Linked DNA regions of Homo sapiens: region 2 is linked to region 1. Evidence: promoter capture Hi-C in 16 types of primary human blood cells and fetal thymus (Javierre and others, 2016). All regions are on one chromosome and are shown on one strand. Each heading gives the region's core, a stretch centred on a gene start or on the middle of the fragment in contact. The rest is flanking DNA. Distances are from core to core; before and after follow the strand shown. Region 1 holds the start of STK32B (serine/threonine kinase 32B). Region 2 overlaps STK32B (serine/threonine kinase 32B).

Region 1 (3,335 bases), core at 447-2,946:
TCCATATTGGCCAGGCTAGTCTCAAACTCTTGACTTCAGGTGATCCACCCGCCTCAGCCTCCCAAAGTGCTGGGATTACAGGTGTGAGCCCCCACGCCCGGCCTAGCACAATATCAATATATTCCTCATAACAATGTTAGAAAGGGAAAGTTCTCTTATTAGCACCTTCTGGACTCAGATGAAGAAACTGAGTCCAGAACAGGTTAAGTAATTTATCCAAGTTAACTGGCTAATGAGGGGCAAAGCAGAATGAAACCTGGGTAGAATGAGCCCAGAGCCCATGCCTGTCCACATTCCGCCCTATGCTTCTTGAGCTAGGGGCCAGCTCTGTGTTCAGGGCATTGCCTGCTGCACACTGGCTACTCAGTGTATGCTTGTTGGTGGAATGAAAGGCAAGAAATATTTATTCATCATTTATTATATGCCGGGCACTGTTGCCTGCTTTTATAAATATTACCTGATATAATTCTCACAGACAACCCAAGGAGTTAATATCAATCAGCCCACTTTGCAGATAAGAACTCCAAAGTGGGACACATTGCCAGTAAATGGTAGAGCCAGCTCTGGGTCATGGTGGGTGGGCCTGCCTCAGACCTTCTCAGTTCTTTCCCACTGCCTTTAAGAGATTTTTTGTTTTGTTTTGTTTTGTTTTGTTTCTGTATGAGTCTCCCCGGCTTCCCTCACCCTTCTCCCAAGAAAAAGAAAGAAGGGGAGAGAACTGGAGAGAGAGACCAGGTAGGGGACGGGGACTGGGGGACGAGATAGGATGGAGAGAGTCACAAAGAACCCCTGCTTTCTATCAAAGCACGGACAGTGGTTCCAGGCGCCCAGCAGATGGCAGGATGTAGCCAAAGATTCCCTGCAGTCCCGGAGAGCTGGGCCCGCAGGACTGCAAGGCAGGGGGACCTGCCTGTCCCTCAGGGAGCGTCCTGGGAACCCGCGCTCGCCCCACACGTCTTGGGGCGCATCTGCCGCACCCCTTACTTAGGCACCCGCAACTGTGGCGCGTATCTCCCGATCCAGGCTCCCGCCGCAGGAGCCCAGGGACCCTCATGCTAGCCTCGCCCCTAAATCGGACGCCGATGCCGCCCAATTTTGGGGGAATCCCGAGACTCATGCCCAGCCATTCCCAGGGAGAATGGTTTGGGGCAAACTATGGCTGTCTGGGGCCTCAGTTTCCCCATGTACAATGAAGGGGTCAGATTAGTATCTAATCTTAAGGGGTCAGAAAGTAAACAGATACTTTCATTCATTAAACACTGAGAAAAACCTTAAGAGGAACAGCGTCGGTTGGAGAGCCAGCAGACACTCCACTGCCCATCCCAATATGAATGGGCAAATACAGGCTAGCGGGGAGTCCTGGGACTCCCTTCGCAGCCGGGGCCGACTAACCACAGACCTAAGAGCCCCTCTACCTCTAGACCTCCGTCTACTGCGCTCTAAAATATGAACGATGCTTTCTTACTGCTGGGTTGTCGGAGGCGGATGTGGGATGGTGCTAACAAAGCGCGTAGCCGAGGCCTGGCCATAGTGGGTGCTGACAAACCGCTTACTGCCTGCAGGGACCGAGCTCCCGGCCGAGGGAGGAGGGCCGAGCAGGGATTCAGATTCTTCCGGGCCGATCCCTTTCTCAGCTCCTTCCGCCCTGCCGCCGCCCACTGCGTGCTGCCTTCGTCCGTCCCCTCCTCCCCCGCTCCTTCCCCTCCTTCCCCTGCTCCCGCGCCGCCTCGCGTCTCCCGCCCGCTGTAGCCGGCGAGGAGCGCCGCACGTTGGCCCCGGCGCGAGGAGCTCCCGGGTTCCCGGGCGGGCACTGGAGTAAGGAGCTGCGAGCGCAGCCCGAGGCGGGGCACGGCGGAAGGCGCGGCGAGAGCGGGGTCCCTGCGAGCGCAGTCGGAAGGGCGTCCAGGAGAAGGGGGACGCCGTCCCCGCCCCTGCACGGTGCTCGGCCCCCTCGGGCTCCGCGCGCGGCTACAACCCGGACTGGGCGCGCCCCCGGCATCCCGCATCTCTGCGCGCGTCCCACATCCCGCATCCGGCATCCCAGCGGCCGGGCATGTAGCAGCGGCAGCAACGGCGGAATATGGGCGGGAACCACTCCCACAAGCCCCCCGTGTTTGACGAGAATGAGGAAGGTAAGAGAGCGAGAGGTGCGAATTCCCGCTTCGCGGGGCATCCCCTTCCTCCACCACCCTCGGCCGAGCCCTGCGGGGCACCGCATGCTGCCCGGCGCGGGGACCCAGGCATGGCCACTTCGCCCAGCGAATGCAGTGTGTGCCCGACCCGTGCCAGGCGCGGCGCTTCTGCTGAGGCAACTCCTAGGTACCCAGTGCCGTTTAGTAGTCGGGACGGTGCCTAGCGCGGGACTGGGGAGGCGGCTTCAGAGAGTTGAACCCGAAACCTGCACTTGGGGGTGTGGAAGGGAGGAGTTGACTTCGGAGGCCAGTCGGGATGGTTCTAGGCTCGGGCTCCCCAGGAAACCGAGGTTTCCTTGAGAGCCTGAGGCTGACGGAGGTGGCCTGGAAGGGCGGGTTGCACCGTGTGTCTGTGTGTGTGTGCGCGTGCCCACGACGCATTTGGTCTCGTGCAAGGGCCTGTTGGATGCAGCTCTCCTCAATCACCCAGGACAGAGGGAAACTTTTCTTTGCTAAACTCTGTGGTTCCTAGGAGGGCGTCCTGTTCTGGGCAGCCTCCCCCTGGCGCAGAAGTGGTGTAGGCTGTCCAACCGCATCTCAACTTCCTGGCTGGATCCTTGCGGTTCAGGTCGATAGAGCTCCCTATTTGGACTAGCAGAACCCTCTTTCCAGTGCAGCGTGTCCCTGGAAAACTTACTTCACCTCTCTGAAACATTAGTCCCTTCATCAATGAAATGTGAGTTATGATACCACTAGCTACTTTATAGGGTTGTTTGAAGCTTAACCACTAGTAATCCACGTGAAAAGTGCCTTATAAATGCAAGCAGTACCGAGCTGTGCCGTTTTTTATGTTAAGAGCCCTCTGCCTCTCAAAGCTGGTTTCCTACTGTGCTGACTCGCCAGTCTCCACTGTGCCCCAGGTAAGAGCTGAGACATACTGAGCACTTACTATGTTCCAGCCATGCTAGCACATAGTGTTCACTCCATCCTTTTCATGCCCCTTGAGGTGGCTACCTTAGAAAGGGGTCTGTCCTGGTTACTGCTGGTAAGAAGTAGAGCTGGGCTTGAGGCAGGACAGTCTGCTTTGAAAGCTGTGCCTGTCATCATTACCCAGGGCACTGGCTGTGTGCGTACATCATGGATGGCTTCTAGAACTCCCAAGGCTGTGAGTGCTACTCAGATGCCTGCCTGGACAGCCCTTCT
Region 2 (3,335 bases), core at 525-3,024, 130 kb after region 1:
ATGGTAAGTGAGCATTGGCTTCAACTTAAAGTCACCGACTGCATTAGCCCCTAGCAAGAGTCGGCCTGTTTTTTGAAGCTTTAAAACCAGGCATTGGCCGGGCATGGTGGCTCACGCCTGTAATCCCAGCACATTGGGAACCCGAGGCAGGCAGATCACCTGAGGTCAGGAGTTCAAGACCAGCCTGACCAGCATGGAGAAACCCCATCTCTACTAAAAATACAAAATTAGCTGGGCGTGGTCGTGCATGCCTGTAATCCCACCTACTTGGGAGGCTGAGGCAGGAGAATCGCTTGAACTGAGGAAGCAGGGGTTGCAGTGAGCTGAGATTGCACCACTGCACTCCAGCCTGGGCAAAAAGAGCAAAACTCCATCTCAAAAAAAAAAAAAAATTAAATTAAAAAATAAAATAAAACCGGCCATTGAATTCTTTCTAGATGTTAAAGTCCTAGATGGCATCTACCTCCAATACTTGTACGAAGTGAGATGGGGGATGGCCAGTGAGTGGAGCATTCAGAACACACACAACATTTATTAAGTTCGCCTCCTTATTTAAGTGTAAGGCTGTTTTGTTTAATTGAAAAATCTGTTGTTTGGTGTAGCCACCTTTGTCAATGACCGTAGCAAGATATTCTAAGTAACTTGCTACAGCTTCTCCATCACACTTTCTGCTTCACTTTGCATTTTTATGTCCTGGAAACAGCTTTTTTCCCCTTTAAACCTCCTGAACCAACCTCTGCTACCTTTCAGCTTTTCTTCTGCAGCTTCCTCACCTCTTTCAGCCTTCATAAAATTGAAGAGAGTTGGGAACTTGCTCTGGATTAGGCTTTGGCTTAAGGGGATGTTGTGGCGAGTTTGATTTTCTATCCAGACCACTCAAACTTTCTCCGTATCAGCAGTTAGGCAGTTTCTCTTCTTTATCATTGTTATGTTCACTGGAGTAGCACTTTTAAGTTCCTTCAGTAACTTTTTCTCTGCATTCAGAACTTGGCTAACTGCTCGGCAAAAGAACCCCAGCTTTTAACCTATTTTGGCTTTTCACATGCCTTCCTCACTAAGCTTAATTATTTCTGGCTTTTGATTTAAATTGAGAGACATAGGAATCTTCCTTTCACTTGAGCACTCAGAGGCCATTGTAGTGTTATTGCTTGGCCTAATTTCAGTATTGTTGTGTCTCAGGGAATAGGGAGACCCAAGGGGAGGGAGTGAGGTAGGGGAACAACCAGCGATGGAGCATTCAGAACATGCACAACATTTATTGATTACATTTACCTTCTTATATGGGTGCAGCTCATGATGCCCCAAAACAATTGTAGTAGTAATATCAAAGATTATTGATCACTTTGGGAGGCTGAGGCAGGTGGATCCCTTGAGGTCAGGAGTTCCAAACCAGTCTGGCCAACATGGTGAAACCCTGTCTCTACCAAAAATACAAAAGTTAGCTGGGCGTGGTGGTGCATGCCTGTAATCCCAGCTACTTGGGAGGCTGAGGCAGGAGAATTGCTTGAACCCGGGAGGCAGAGGTTGCAGTGAGCTGAGATCGCACCACTGCATTCCAGCCTGGTGACAGAGCGAGACTGTCTCAAAAAAAAAAAAAGAAGAAGAAGAAGAAAAAGAAAACAAAGATCACTGCCATAACAAATACCATAATAATGAAAAAAGTTGAAATATTCCAAGAATTATCAAAATGTGACAGAGACACAAAGTGAGCACATGCTGTTGGAAAACATGGCACCGATGGATGTGCTTGATGCAGGGTTGCCGTGCACCTCCACTTTGTGAAATATGCAGGATCTGCTAAGTGCTGTCAAGAGAAGCACAGGAAAATGAGGCGTGCCTGTGTTAGCACTTGTCCTTTGAGGCTGGCCTCTGGCTGGTTGAGCACCTGAGGTGAGGTTGCTCCCTGTTTCCGTGTGACTACGTGTTCTCTCCTTCTCCTCCAGCGTCAGACGTGAGGACACGGCCTTTTGGAAAATGTGTCTTGCGTTTTTAGCATTAGACTGTTATCCTGATTGAATGTTAATGGGTCAGTAGTTCATTCATGTGTTCGGACTGCATTTTCAAAATCCATTTCTACTTACCTAATTGGCTGTATTTACTAGACTCACTGTTAATCTGTTTTGTTTAAAACCGGAGGAGGGAGGCATCTGTCCCTGTCTATTGCCTAAACAACCGAGAGAATGAATGAACATTCTCAGGATGAGAACAGATGTCAGAAGTTAGTTTAAATGGCTCTCAGGGCAATGTAGGTTTCTAGAATCATTTTTGAGTTGCAATGGACTGAGTCAGTACACGGATATCTACCTGCCAGTCTAAGCCAAGAAACAATCACTTAAATCAGAGGCTACATTTTAAGTGTTGAGAGCTTTGATTAAAATAAAACTATATTAAGTATTTGAAGGCAGAGCCGATCTGGCTGAAGTAGTGGAGGGCAGGGAAAGGGACGTGGGGGAGGACAGAGACTGGAAGGCATCAGGGAAACCTTTGACAAAGCTTCTCAGCCTTATAAACAATTGCTAGATGCTGAGCAGTGTCATTTCCACAGAAGCAATTGTCCCTAGCCTGAACTGTTGCTATAGGCTCCTAACTACTGTTTCAATGCCCAGCCAGTTACCCATCACCCACGTGCCCTTCACAGGACAGGTCTTATCAAAGCGTAAGTCTGTGCCTACCACGCCTCTGCATAAAATACCACAATGGCTCCCGAAGCCCTCAGAATGAACGTCTTTCTGTGATCTAGCCTGTAACACTATGTACAGTCTCATCCCCTGACACCCACCCCTACTACCATCTTGGGCCATTTTTGTTCTCGTCCATACTAACTGGTTTGTGGGTGATCTGTCATACATCCTACTGTTCTCATCTCTCCAGGCCTCTGCTCAGGCTGTGCCCTCTGCCTGGAACACCGTCTGTTCTTCGGTCACTGCGAGAACTCCTGCTCATCCTCCACAGGAATTCATTCATTAAGTCGCTATTCACTGGGCTCTTATTGGGTACCAGGCACTGTTCCAATTTCTAAGGGTGCAGTGGTGAAGACAGTCAGTATGGCTCCTGTCCTCTTGGAGTTCATAGTCCAGGCCTCACCTCCTCCATCAGCCCTCCTCGGGACACCAGCCCCAGACAGTGGTGCTTTCTCGCAGATCCTGTTATGGCATAAAGGCAGCTCTGTCACGGTTATCTGCTGGGGTGTGTGTTTCCTCCGTGAGCAGTGGGCCGCTTGAGGAAGGGGACCATACCTTATTCATCTCTGTCTCCCTAGCATCTGACGTTCAGTAGATTAATTTATGTAGTGCTGTTAAGGGCCCCTGACATGCCAAATGCTGTGCTAGACCCTG

What was found. The method cuts DNA at HindIII sites, captures the fragments that hold promoters and counts their contacts. A CHiCAGO score of 5 or more calls a contact.
Region 2: a contact is called between a fragment that was not itself captured here and the fragment with the promoter of STK32B in region 1, in 1 of 17 cell types (fetal thymus). The highest score is 6.8, in fetal thymus.

The regions. Positions count from the first base shown.
Region 1 is chr4:5,049,784-5,053,118 of GRCh38, forward strand. It overlaps STK32B (serine/threonine kinase 32B), which reads left to right and starts at 1,697. Exons shown (of 12, transcript NM_018401.3): 1 at 1,697-2,132. The coding sequence starts at 2,081. RefSeq lists an enhancer at 2,399-2,937. The HindIII fragment of the contact is 3,285 bases long and covers 1-2,909 here.
Region 2 is chr4:5,183,101-5,186,435 of GRCh38, forward strand. The region is part of intron 3 of STK32B (serine/threonine kinase 32B); the gene reads left to right. Among named protein-coding and RNA genes, the nearest start is that of STK32B, 130 kb to the left of the region's middle. The HindIII fragment of the contact is 1,434 bases long and covers 1,058-2,491 here.